Linked DNA regions of Homo sapiens: region 2 is linked to region 1. Evidence: promoter capture Hi-C in human tissues and cell types (Jung and others, 2019). All regions are on one chromosome and are shown on one strand. Each heading gives the region's core, a stretch centred on a gene start or on the middle of the fragment in contact. The rest is flanking DNA. Distances are from core to core; before and after follow the strand shown.

What was found. The method cuts DNA at HindIII sites, captures the fragments that hold promoters and counts their contacts. A contact is called where the count stands out against the background at its distance.
Region 2: a contact is called between a fragment that was not itself captured here and the fragment with the promoter of DCST2 in region 1, in 1 of the 25 tissues and cell types used here (adrenal gland).

Annotation. Positions count from the first base shown.
Region 1 is chr1:155,028,670-155,035,132 of GRCh38, forward strand. It overlaps DCST2 (DC-STAMP domain containing 2), which reads right to left and starts at 5,112. Exons shown (of 15, transcript NM_144622.3): 1 at 4,765-5,112; 2 at 4,425-4,595; 3 at 3,998-4,099; 4 at 2,905-3,102; 5 at 2,500-2,565; 6 at 1,763-1,976; 7 at 1,415-1,572; 8 at 564-728. The coding sequence starts at 5,032. It overlaps DCST1 (DC-STAMP domain containing 1), which reads left to right and starts at 5,155. Exons shown (of 17, transcript NM_152494.4): 1 at 5,155-5,185; 2 at 5,303-5,428; 3 at 5,766-5,891; 4 at 5,984-6,058. The coding sequence starts at 5,368. The HindIII fragment of the contact is 8,066 bases long and covers 1-6,463 here.
Region 2 is chr1:155,090,492-155,096,837 of GRCh38, forward strand. No RefSeq gene overlaps it. Among named protein-coding and RNA genes, the nearest start is that of EFNA3, 15 kb to the left of the region's middle. RefSeq lists an enhancer at 3,027-3,641. The HindIII fragment of the contact is 5,721 bases long and covers 1-5,182 here.

The DNA of each region.
Region 1 (6,463 bases), core at 3,862-6,361:
CAACACCATCCTGGCCAACACAGTGAAACCCCATCTCTACTAAAAATACAAAAATAAGCTGGGCATGGTGGCATGTGCCTGTAGTCCCAGCTACTCAGGAGGCTGAGGCAGGAGAATCACTTAAACCTGGGAGGCGGAGGCAGTGAGCCGAGATGGCGCCACTGCACTCCAGCCTGGTGACAGAACGAGACTCTGTCTCAAAAAAAAAAAAAAAAAAAGAGGAAACTGAAGCTGAAGAGGTTAAGCAACTTGCTGAAGGTCACCGCCTAATAAAGGACAGAGCTGGGATTTGAACCCTGGCCAGTGTGACTCTAGAGCTTGCATTTTTAACTACTCTGTAAGTTATAATCTTGACCTAGACATAGGTGTTACTAGGCAAAGCATAGAGTTGAAAGAGTGGCACACTTGTGGGCTGCTGAGTAACAGTGACATGGGGACATTCAGGCAGTCACCAGGACTGAGGATGGGAAGAGGAGAAGGCTTGGGAGCAGGCGGGGAGATCAGAAACAGGCCGAGGGGGCTGCAGTGGGTGAGTGGGAGGAGGCTGTCACGTAGGCACTCACTGCGGGCCACAATCTCCCCCTGCAGCTGGTGCCGGGCCAGGTCAAGCACCCAGAAGACAGCATAGTCTAGGAAGACTAGGAACAGCACGAGGAGGAGGTGTCGGATAAGGTTGAAGGTCTCCAGAATGTAAAAAAACTTCTCCCATTGGGACAAGAAGATGGAGCCTGAGCAGGAGTGGGATGGTCAGGAGGATGCTCCCCAGTTCTCCCGTCCACCAGATCCCAGTTCTTGGAGAGGCCTCCTGCCCCTAATCAGGTGTGGGCCCGTCTGCTCATCAGGAATACGGAAAAGAAAAGAAGCTGTGAGGACTCTGGCAAGGATGGAAAATACTCTTCAGGGGAGGGGGCTCCGTGGCTAGAAGGGAGGGGCCTGCCTAGCATCTCCACCTGGCCCTGTGGCCCATTCCAGTCTAAGGAGCCCTCCCTCCTAGGGCATCCCTCATCCCCTTACCTGCCTCCCCACCTCACAGGCAGTCCTCCCCCTCCATATTAGCACTTCCTGCCCACCCCGGGGAAGCCCTCCCAACTTGACTTCCCTCGCTCTGTGTCCATCCCCTGCTGTCCTGATGTCCAGGGTGCTCCCAGAAGCACCATCTGCCCCTCTTGTCTCTGGCTACTTTCTCCAAGGGTGTCTATGTTCCCCCTTTCAGACTGCGGGCTCCCCAAGGACCGGGCAGTGTCTTCCCTCAGCCTGAAAGTTCCTTAAGCTCTGGGTTGTGTCTCCTCCCTCTGGCCCCTGCCCCAAGCCCATCCTGAGCCCTGCCTGTGCAGGGGCTTAGGGGCAGGGCAGCGGGGTGGGGGGAAGCCCTGGCCTCCCTGGCTTGGGCTCTCCCTGTCCTCAGGGCCCTCACCCGGTGGGATGTAGCGCCTGGCCTCGTGAGCACTGAGCGGTAGCACTGTGGGCAGCCCTGCCGTGGAGCGCACAGCCTCCATGCGCAGGAATCGGCTAGTGATGTAGATATTGTCATAATGGTCCCAGTTCAGGTAACAATACCGGTAAAATAGGGCTCTGGGAAGGGGAGGTGGAGCACATGTGAGGCCCCTTAGGACCCCAGGCCAGACCCCACAGGGCATCCGCGCTTCAACCCCACAACTTCAACCTCCCTGGATGCTGGGGCAGGGAGAAATGAGCTGCTCCCTGCAGCCCTGGCCCTGCACCCCCGGCCCTGCATCCCCCACGCTGCCCGGCAGCCCCTCACTGGAGGTAGAGAAGCACAAGCAGCAGAGGCGTGGTGAAGCCCATCAGAGCCAGGGCCTCTCGGACACGGTGCAGCTTCATGCTGACAGCCTCGTGGAGGTCCATGGCTACCTGGGACAGGCTCCGAGAGGCATTGAGATCCACAGAGAAGTGGTGGGTGGCTGTCATGTTGAACTCAAACTCCTGACGCACCCGGTTGAGCAACTGAATCACGGCTGGGGCCAGCAGGTTCAGGGGAGACGTGGGCAAGGAGAGTTAGGAGAGGGTGGAGCTGCCCCTGGGGAGGGGCCTGGCACAGCCCAGGGGGCGCAGCTTACAGACCAGCTGGGAACCCCCCAGTGCTTGGGTCAAGGTGGACTGAGGAGGGGACAAAGCCTCCACGTATCTGTGCCATCGCCATCACATGCTCAGCACCCAGCATGACACAGGGCATGCAACAGATGCCCCTAAGGAATGATCTTGATGACCTGAGTGTGGACCTGAATGTGGACAGGAGGCCCTGGTTCTGTTCCCAGCTCCTGCTCTCAGGGCAGGCTGTGGTGAGGCACTGGCCCTTCGCTGGACCCGTTTCCTGATCTGTACAGCATGGATATGGGCCTGGGTGATCACTTGAGCCCCTTTCTTTCTCTTACATTCTCCTTTATGGGCTGGGAGCACTGGGGGCTGGCCATGGCCACACCGGGATGAGGGAGGGAGACCACTAGGGAGCACCATATGTGGCAGGAGGGGGTCACTCACGGGTGCCGATGGTCTGGCGCAAGAAGGGTTGAATGTACTTAGGGATGACGCAGAACACCTGGACCACTGAGGGGCGGAGTCGGCTGAGTGTCGGAAGGAGGGGCACAGCCAGGCCTGCCCCCGACCTCTGGAGACCTCTTCTCACAGGGCCTCTTTTCGATTTTCCTATTGGCCTCCACATTTGCTCAAAACCTTGTAGCACCTCCCTGTCGCCCTTCTCTCCCAACACCAGTCCCTCCCTACTGCCCACCCCCACCCCCAATACTGGTCCTACCAAGCTTATTGGTTCCTCTCTGTTGCCCTCTAATCGTCCTCCTGAGCCTGCCCTCCCAACTGACCCCCACATTCCCACCCCACCCCACCCCACATCGGCTCCTCCCCGCTGGCAGACCCTGGTTTTCTCACGGCTGGCAAGTCCACAGAGCGCCAGTTTGAAGGGCATGAGCACGTAACACAGGTGGTAGGCTTGTGGTATGACCATCATGCAGCTGTCCTTGGCATCATCGAAAACCCGTGCACACTTCAGGTAAGGGTTGCCCAGTTCCGAGTTGCACACATCGCCGATGTGCAGGAGCCACTGCCACACATTCCGGAGAGCCCTGGCTGGGGACAGCTGCAGGGTTGGCACCCAGGGCTGGAATCCTACAGCCTCTTCTCAGGGTTTTGGGGAACAATACCACAGTATCCAGGGCTGGAGAGGCCTGTGGTCAGGGACCTGGCTGTGCTGTGTCCAGTGAACACTAGCCAGCGCCCAGAAGGGGCCCAAAAAACCCTGGACAGGGTACAGGTGAGGAGACTGAATTTTTTTGTTTCTGTTTGTTTGTTTTGTTTTGTTTTGTTTTGAGATGGAGTTTCGCTCTTGTTGCCCAGGCTAGAGTGCAGTGGAGTGATCTCGGCTCATTGCAACCTCCGCCTCCTGGGTTCAAGAGATTCTCCTGCCTCAGCCTCCTGAGTAGCTGGGACTACAGCTGCGTGCCACCACGCCCGGCTAACTTTTTGTATTTTTAGTAGAGACGGGGTTTCACGATGTCAGCCAGGATGGTCTTGATCTCCTGACCTCCTGATCCACCGCCTCAGCCTCCCAAAGTGCTGGGATTACAGGTGTGAGCCACCGCACCTGGCCCCCCCGCTTTTTTTTTTCTTTAGAGATGGAGTCTCACACTGTCACCCAGGCTGGATTGGAGTACAGTGGCACGATCATAGCTCACTGCAGCCTCAAACCCCTGGGTTCAAGAGATCCTTCCACCATAGCCTCCCCAGTAGCTGGGACTACAGACATGTGTCATTACATCTGGCTAGTTTTATTTATTTTCTATTTTTTTATTTTTTATAGAGACAGGGTCTCGCCATGTTGCCAAGGCTGGTCTCAAACTCCTGGGCTCAAGTGATTCTCCCACCTCGGCCTCGCAAAGTGCTGGGATTACAGGCATGAGCCACCGCACCCGGCCAGGACTGGGTGCATTTTGAGTCCCCGGGATAGACATGCTAATGTGCTTACCTATGTGTTTCACACCATCCATGATTGACCGAAAGAACTTGCGGACCCGGTCAGCCACCTCTTTGGTCTTCCGGGCAATAGCTTTAATCTTGTTCAGGGCACCTGATGGGTGAGGGACAGAGGCACTTTGGAGTCTTCTCCTCTAGGGGCTGGTTCTCACCATTGCCCCTTAAGCAGGGAGTAGAGAGGAGGCCACCATTTCCAGAGGCGGGAAGCCTGGATTCTGGGGCCTGGGAGATCGTTAATCTGGGAGTGGAGGAGGCCAGAGAGCAAGGAGAGAGGGTTTAGCTGTGCCCAGAGTCCCTTCCAGGCCCAGATGCTCCGCGATTAGCACCAGCAGAGAAGGAGGCCAAAGGACTGTAGAACATGCAGGATGAGGGGGGCGAGGGGGGCCCGTGGGAGACAGTGGTAGAGGTGGGGGACTTACTGACAAGAGGTTGCTTGGCCCTCTGTAGCACTTCGGCGGTCTGGTTCAGGGCCAGCTCTGCCCCACAGGCTACAGCCTCGCTGGCCCGGGTGAAGTTGCGTAGAGTGTTGGCACAAGGCCCTTGAAGCACCAACCCAAAAGCAGCCACCAACAGTAGTGTCCGGCCCTGCCCTGGGGGCGACAGCTTTGTTAGAACCAAGACCCCAGCCCCAAACATGGCAGCAAGTCCCTTACATAAGCCTTCAGAATATTTCCCTTAACCCCTGCCTCTCCTCCAGCATCTCTTCTGCCCCAGCACCAGCCCCAGGACCTGCCCCCTAGCCCTGGGTGCCAAGCTCACTGGAGAAGGCCTGAGGCAGCAGCAGGAGGACAGTGGCTCGGACCTGGCGAGAGAATCCCATGCCCAGGCTAAGGAAGGCAGCCAAAGTGAGGGTGCCCACCAGGCAACCCCAGGGGCTGTGGCCTTCCACCAGTAGCTCCAGAAGCCCGTAGGCCGTGGCTAAAGACAAGCCCAGGGTAAAACCTCCCACGCTGCGAACCACAGCTCTCGCCATGCTAGGCTCCTCTCCCCCCAAGGGGTGCACAACATCCTTCATGACTTTGGGCATGGCTGCTGAGACCAAATGTCTGCCTGTCTCCAGGAGATGCCCGCTGACTTCTGTGCTCCTGGAATTTCTCACCGTATTCTAAGGTTCCAAAGGGCTTTCACTGCATATGTCTTGGAATCCTTGACCCAGTTCCGAGGACTGGAGAGGGGATAGGTAGGTCTCTAATCTCCTTCCCCACTTCTCGGAGCAGAAGGATTAAAAGGCCCAGAGCTCAGGCCTAGGCTTCCCATGAAGCGGAAGAGACAGGCAGCACCTCTCTTCTCTCACCAGAACCTTGTGTCCAAGGAGGTCCTTCAGGAGACCTGGGATGAGTGGTGCTTCCCCAAAACAGACTCATGGACATTAAACATCATCAGAATGGCACAAGAGGGCAAAGAAGAAAACAGCCTCATACCAGTGAGTCACTCAGCAGAGACCCAGTATCCCTTGACCTCCACTCTCATCCCATCTCTCCTCCTGGAACTCCTGCACACTATCCCCCAACTCGGTGTCCGCGCCTCCACCACCTCTCTGGTCTAGTGCCTCCCGCCTCCCAGCCCAGCCCTTGCCTTTGCTGTCCCTTACACCCATACCACTTCCTCAGGCTCCCTCATCCTCCTCCAGGGTCCCCTAAGTTCCTACTGTTTCACATGCCAGGTTTCCCCAGCCTCTATCCACCTGCAAGCCCTGAATCCTAATGAGCCCCATCCCAGGCAGAAGAGTGGGCTGTTGAGCTACCCTGTCCCCCTCTTAGCGGTGCAGAGGCTCCTGACCTGGGGGCTGCCAGTCTCCTGTAGCTGGTTCCTGTGGCGCCAGCCGGGCGAGTTTCCTGTCACTGCTCTCCTGCTGGGGGCAGGCGCTGGGGGGCTCCTGGCCATAGGTGAGTGTGGAAGCAGAAAGTTCGGGGTGGGCAGAGGCTGGACCAGGGCTAGGACCCATCTTTTGGCCTTTGGCTTGACCTTGTGCCCTTAGGTCTCTTTCAGCTCCTGGTGAACCCCATGAACATCTACGAAGAACAGAAGATTATGTTCTTGTACAGCTTGGTGGGTTAGTGCTGGGCAAAAGCCAGGAACACTCAAGCGGCCTGTGGAACACAGCGCCGTCCTGCATGCCCAGGAAGGAGTCGGGACTTGTTTCTTCTGTACCCATACATCCCCTGTGGCTTCCGCCTCCTCCTGGGCTTTACGGGGAGGTCCAGAGGGAAGAGGCTGCCAATTTAAGAAGGAAGACACCGTCCTTGCCCTGAGGGAGTCTCTCCATTCCGAGGGACTCCCCATCACCCACATGATATAGTCCAACCCCATAACCCTTCATAACTCTCATCTCTCCTGACCTGTCTGACCTCGTTTTCTGATCCTCCTAAGAAATTAAATTCATTCATTCATTCATTCATTCACTCAGCACTTACTGAGAATCTGCTGAGGATTTAGCAGTAAACAAGGATGACAAGCA
Region 2 (6,346 bases), core at 1,072-3,571, 59 kb after region 1:
CCTGGCTAATTTTGTATTTTTAGTAGAGACAGGGTTTCTCCATGTTGGTCAAGCTGGTCTCGAACTCCCAACCTCAGGTGATCCGCCCACCTCAGCCTCCCAAAGTGCTGGGATTACAGGCATGAGCCACCGCGCCCGGCTGACCCTGTCTTTAAAATAAATAAATAAGTAAATTGGCAGGCACTGTGGCTCACACTTGTAATCCCAGCACTTGAGAGGCCAAGGCAGGCAGATCATTTGAGGTCAGGAGTTTGAGACCATCCTGGACAACATGGCGAAACCCAGTATCTACTAAAAATACAAAAATTAGCCAGGCATGTGGTGCATGTCTGTAATCCCAACTACTCAGGAGGCTGAGGCAGGAGAATCGCTTGAACCTGGTAGGCGGAGGTTCCAGTGGGTCGAGATCGAGCCACTGCACTCCATCCTGGGCGACAGAACGAGACTCTGTCTCTCAAAAATAAATATCTAAATAAATAATAAATAAATGAAATCAGTTTTAAAAGCTGCGGAGCCCTGCTGAGGATTTTCCCGTCCAGCGAGGCTTTCAATCCCAGAGCATGTAAGGAAGACTGGGGAGAGAGGTCTGCACTTAGATGGCCAGACACCAATGACCCTGAGCCTGTCTGGTACAGGGCCCTACTTTGTGACACCAAGGTCTGCAGAGCCCAGGGCGTCCTGGCCAAGGCAGTGGTAAGATGTCACCAGGCACAGTGGTATGGCCTGAGGGCAGAGCAGCCTCACCCTGGGCAGGGTCTTCTTCACCCTTGTGTTGTCTCATGTTGGCCCCCTCCAGCACAGGCACAAAGAGGGCTCCCACCTGACACGCTGGCATTCCCAGAGGCTGTCACAGGTTAATGCCCCCAACACAGGTAGAGATCGCACACATCCCTCCTCTTCCCGTCCTCCCCAGGGTGAAAAACAACAGCAACATCAAACAACTGAACAGAGATTTTGGCTTGGAGAGTAAAGTTCAGAGCTGCCCCGCCCCTCCCTTCGGGGTGAGAGGTCACTCCAGCAGCGCTGTGGGTAGCAGGGAAGGAGCTATTTACAATCCCGGCTGGGGTCTAAGCCTCGCTGCCACGTGGGTTTGCCACTCGGGGCCTGCAAGTCTGCCGATATCCACCAGGTGGCGCAGCACCTGGGCTGGGACTCGCCGGAGCTGTGAGGGGAGCTTGGGATGGGTTTGCGGTCGGTGGAGCGGGTGTTGGTCCTTGAGGGGACTCAAGCAGCTGCGCCGTAGGACCCTCTGTTCTCAGGCCTGGGGCAGGGTGGGCTAAGGCCCAGCCCACTCTCCGTCCATTTCTCTTATCCCCACTCTCTTCTTTTCCTCCCCTAGTTGTAGATGCCATGGGGTTGGGAGTGGACTTGGGCTCAGTCCACAGCCGTCCAGCCCAGACCTACTCGGCACGCAAATCTCGCCATTCTCTCTCAACCTCCATGTTCCGTCCAGCTGGCAAACCAGGGATACAGACTGGGCTGGAGGTACGTGGCAGGGACAGAGGCGTGGACTGGAGGTGGTGGTGACGGGGCTGGGGGGCCATGGATTGGAATGAAGGACACAAGCTGGGACCAGGAGACAAGGACTAGGATGAGGGGGGCGGGAGGATATGGAGGGGGGGAACGAGGGGCATGAGCTGGGTTGGGGGCATGGACTGGCAAGAGGGGTCCAGGTGGGAGGTGATGGGAACACAGGCTCGGTGTCTGCAGCCTGTGGACGACAGTCTGGGGAAGTGTGACGCGGATGGGATAGCCCAGATGTGCTGGGGCCAGGTCAGCCAGAGACACACTGGGCCCAGAGCAGCAGAGCAGCTTCAGGCTGAACCTAGTGATGTGGCCTGTGATCTGACTCCAAAGAGGTCTGGCCTCCTCCAGTCTCCTCCGGTGTGGCCTGGGGGAGGGGCAGATATGACTCCTCCCCAGAGTGTTAGCACCAAACTCTTGGCCTTCGCCACAGCATCTGGCCCCAGGTAATTACAGGGGCCAAGCCTGGCTATAAAAGGATGGATGGGCCAGCCTAGGAACCTGGGAGAGCTAGGTTCAACTGACCGGAGGTCCACCAGCCTGCCTCTGAGAGGCTGGCATTGGCCAGGGGATACTAGAGTTTCACATTCAATGGCATACACTTCATATGCCATACACCAATCATATAATCTCATAACCTTGCAACCACACACAGTCAATCAAACTCGGTGCTGAGGGAGAGGGGGCTGGGGGGCAAAGCAGGGAGGAAAGCAGGGGCTTTGTTCACACCACTGAAGTGGGAGAGGCCCCCCACGGGACTGAGGGACCAGTCCAGGCACCCACAGGAGGGAACACGCACACACACTCATCCATCACTTGCACACACATCCATGTGTGCACATTCGACCCGTTTTGCGGCCGTCACACTCAAGCCATTCATGGGTATTAGGCACATACTAACGCCCCACTGTCTATAACACACTCACGCAGGCACCAGACCCCACACAGGGCAAGGGGCTCCCAGGTACCCTGAGCCGCGCTTGCATCCAGGGTCACATACGGTGACACACTTGAGGGCTGGCATTCAACAGATGATACAATTCTCTAACACGGACCCAATGACAATCCCAGCCAAGCCAACTGGGCAAACCCTAGAGTCAAGAAAATCAGAAGAGGGAGGAGGTGGGAGGGGGTAGATCAGAGCCACATTCACACCCTCTGGAAACCGATAGGTCATTTCAACAGCCACAGGAGACACAAAAACAACCTCTAGGACCCCAAGGATATACCCAGACACATACACAAACACAAGGAGAGGCAGGGGCTTCTCAATCACATCCATATGTGCACCCACAGATACGTGCCCACACCCAACATCACACGCAGTGCCCACCACATTCTTCCCAGGGACCTTGGGAACCTCCTACCCACTCCTGCCTTGTGCTGGTGAAGGAGAAGACAATGGTGGGGAGCAGAGGGGGCTGGGAAGAGTAAGAGCTAAGCTTGAGACAGGAGAAAGCCCTCTTCCCACACCACAGACATGCCTGCACACACACACACACACACACACACACACACACACACACACACACATACACAGATGCCAGACCTTGAGCCTCCAGGGAGAGCCCTGAGGAGAAATCAACAGAGGCTGTCCAACTCCACGTGGGGCCATGCCCATATCTGACCACCTGGACACCAGCACTGCCCACTCTGGGCACAGACCCCAGGCCTGGCCTCTCTGCACCATTAAGCACACTGGGCATGGAGGGTGACCCTCGCATCCCTCTGTGACCCCAGGCTTGTCACTTGGGTGCCCTTCAGGGCCTGGCAGGACCTGGTCTGACAGTGGAAAAAGCAAATATTCTCAGTGCCCTCCTAATACGGCCCCCAAAAGAGGCCTTAAGAGCCTTCCTCCCTCCTTGCAGGCTAAGCACACAGCAGGCATCATGCTAACCCCTGGGTATACAACCCCGAGTCTGGCGGCCATTTGGCTGGGCCTCTGGCCAGAGTTGTCAGGGAAGACTTTGGGAGAGATGAGAGGCTTGAGGGATGATTGGCAGTTTGCCAGCTAGGGTGTGGGTGTTGGCTGGGAGGGACTACGAGGGGAGACAGGCCAGCAGAGGGGGCAGCATGATCAAAAGGACGGAGGCTGCTGTGTTTATGTTTCACAGCATAAGCAGTCACAAAAACATTCACACTCACAACAGAGCACGCCCTTTTCACACAGGGCGCCTTTGTACACATGTGCACCCTCCTGGAGCAACACTCTGCAGTTTGTTCGCTCCAGGCTGCCCTCACACCACTCCGTGGCACCATCCCCGCAGTCTCCATGAGATGACATCCCTTAGAGATCCTCTCACACCTGCACCCTGCTGAAGGGCTGCCTGTCTGTGGGTGCCCACAGTGAGCACCCAGAGTTGAGGGAGCCTCCTCTCCTGGGACAAGTGGTTGGGAAGCCGGGGACATCTGAGCAGTCCCTGAGCCTTCTAGGGCTGGAGCGAGCAGAGAAGCCGAGGAGACTGTGGCTGCCTGAGATTCTTAGAAGCAGCAATTCTCTTTTAGCCAAAAGCACTTAAGCAGAGGCCTGAGTTAAAAATAGGCTGGATTTACTGCCAGAAGGTGGCAGGAGAGGAAGTTTCTTTCTGACGGTACTCATTCTATCCCAAACACCTACAGAGGCTCTATGGGACCCTGCTGGGCTGGGGAACTCCACCCAACTGTTCTGTGTGCCAAGGGGGTGGCCAGCACACCCCTTGTGATCTTCATTTTATCTCCTTTATTGGTTCATAATACTACACTTACATTTTTTTGTGGTTCTTTTAGGATTACACAATGCTTCTTTAACTTATAGTCTATCTCCATCAAGTAATATCACACCACTCAGCGCAAACACCTTCCTCCCATTCCCCACCTCTCCGCCTTTGTGCTATTGTCACCATGGATTTATTTCTACACATGCTATAAGCCCCACAATACATTATTAGATTTGCTCTAAACCCTCAAGTATCTTTTAAAGAGAATTTTAAAATCAGAAAAATATCTTTTCTATCTACCCACATATTTACCATTTCCAGCTCTCTTCATTCCTTTGTGTAGACGGAGATTTCCATCTGGTATCATTTTTCTTCTGCTTGAAGGACTTTTTAAAGCCGTTCTTCTAGTGCAGGTCTACTGATGATGAATTCTTTCAATTTTGGAATGTCTGAATGCATCTTTATTCCATCTTCCTATTTGAAAGATATCTCCACTGAATTCTAGGTTGACAGTTTTTATCTTTTCGTACTTTAAAGACATTACTCCACTGTCTTCAGGGTTGCATTGTTTCTGACGAGAAATCACTTCTATTTTTCCTTTTTACACAATGTGTTTTTTTCCTCTGGCAGCTCTTAAGATTTGTGTCTTTATCACTGGTGTTCAGCAGTGATTAAGGCAGATTATGATGTACCCTTGGTGTAGTTGTCTTCATATTTCTTCTGCTTAGGGTTTATTGAGCTTCTTCGACATAGGGATTTATAGTTTCCATCAAATTTGAAAATTATTGTTCCTTCAGATATTTTTTCTGTCATCTCTCCTGTGAATCTGTTAGACCCACGTTTCTGGTCTCCAAACAGGTATACAGGCTACTTGTTATTCCACAGCTCACTGATTTTCTGGATTTTGGTTTTGGAGGTTTTGTTTTTGTTTTTTGTTTTTTGTTTTTAAGTCTTTTTTTCCTCTCTGTGTTTCATCTTGGATAGTTTCTATTGCTAAGTCTTCAAAAACCTGTTTTCTACAGGGTCTAATCTGCTTTTATTTCCATCCAGTATACTTTTCATCTCAGATATTATACATTTCATCTTTAGAAGTTCAATTGAGGTCTTATTTTATATCTTCACACCTCTTTACATCGTGTTTATGTTTTTCCATATCTGTTTGAATATATGGATGGTATTTAATAATAGCTATTGGAGCTAAAGTCCTTGTCTACTAATTCTGTGACATTTCTGGGTCAGCTTTGTGTCATTATTTGCCTGTGTCTTTGCATGCCTGGTAATTATTGATTGGATGCCAGACATTGTATATTTTATGTTGTTTGGTGCTAGATTTTTTTGTATTCCTTTGAATATATTTGAGCCTCGTTCAGGGACTTAGTTAAGTTCCTTGGAAACAGATTGATCCTTTTAAGGTGTGCTTTTAGGTACCATTTGGCAAGAGGAGAATAGCCTTTGGTCTAAGGCTAATTTGCTCTCACCACTGAGGCAGTATCATCTGATGACTCTACTTGATGTCCCATGTATCAGTCAGTATCTAGTCAAGAGGCAGAAACCACACAGCAATTTGAACAGGGAAAGTTTAATGTAAAAAGAAAAAAAATTTTTTTTTGAGACAAGGTCTTGCTTTGTTACCCATGCCGGTATGCAGTGGTGCAATCATGGCTCACCATAGCTTCCACCTCCTGGGCTGAAGTGGTTCTCCAGCCTTAGCTTCCTGAGTAGCTGGGATCACAAGCGTGTGCTACCACACCTGGCTAATTTTTACATTTCTTTTGTAGAGACAGAGGGTCACCCTATGTTGCCTAGGCTGGTCTGGAACTCCTGGACTTAAGCAATCCTCCCACCTCAGCTTCCCAAAGTGCTGGAATCACAGGTGTGACCCACCACATGCAGTCTAATGTAAAAAGGTATTAACTTAACAAGGAATTGAGGTTAGAAGGGATTGGCTAGTAAGAAATAAACAGAACTCTAAATGAATACAGGAATAGGGGGCCAGATGCAGTGGCTCATGCCTGTAATCCCAGCACTTTAGGAGGCTGAGGCAGGTGGATCACCTGAGGTCAGGAGTTCAAGACCAGCCTGGGCAACATGGTGAAACCCTGTCTCTACAAAAATACAAAAATTAG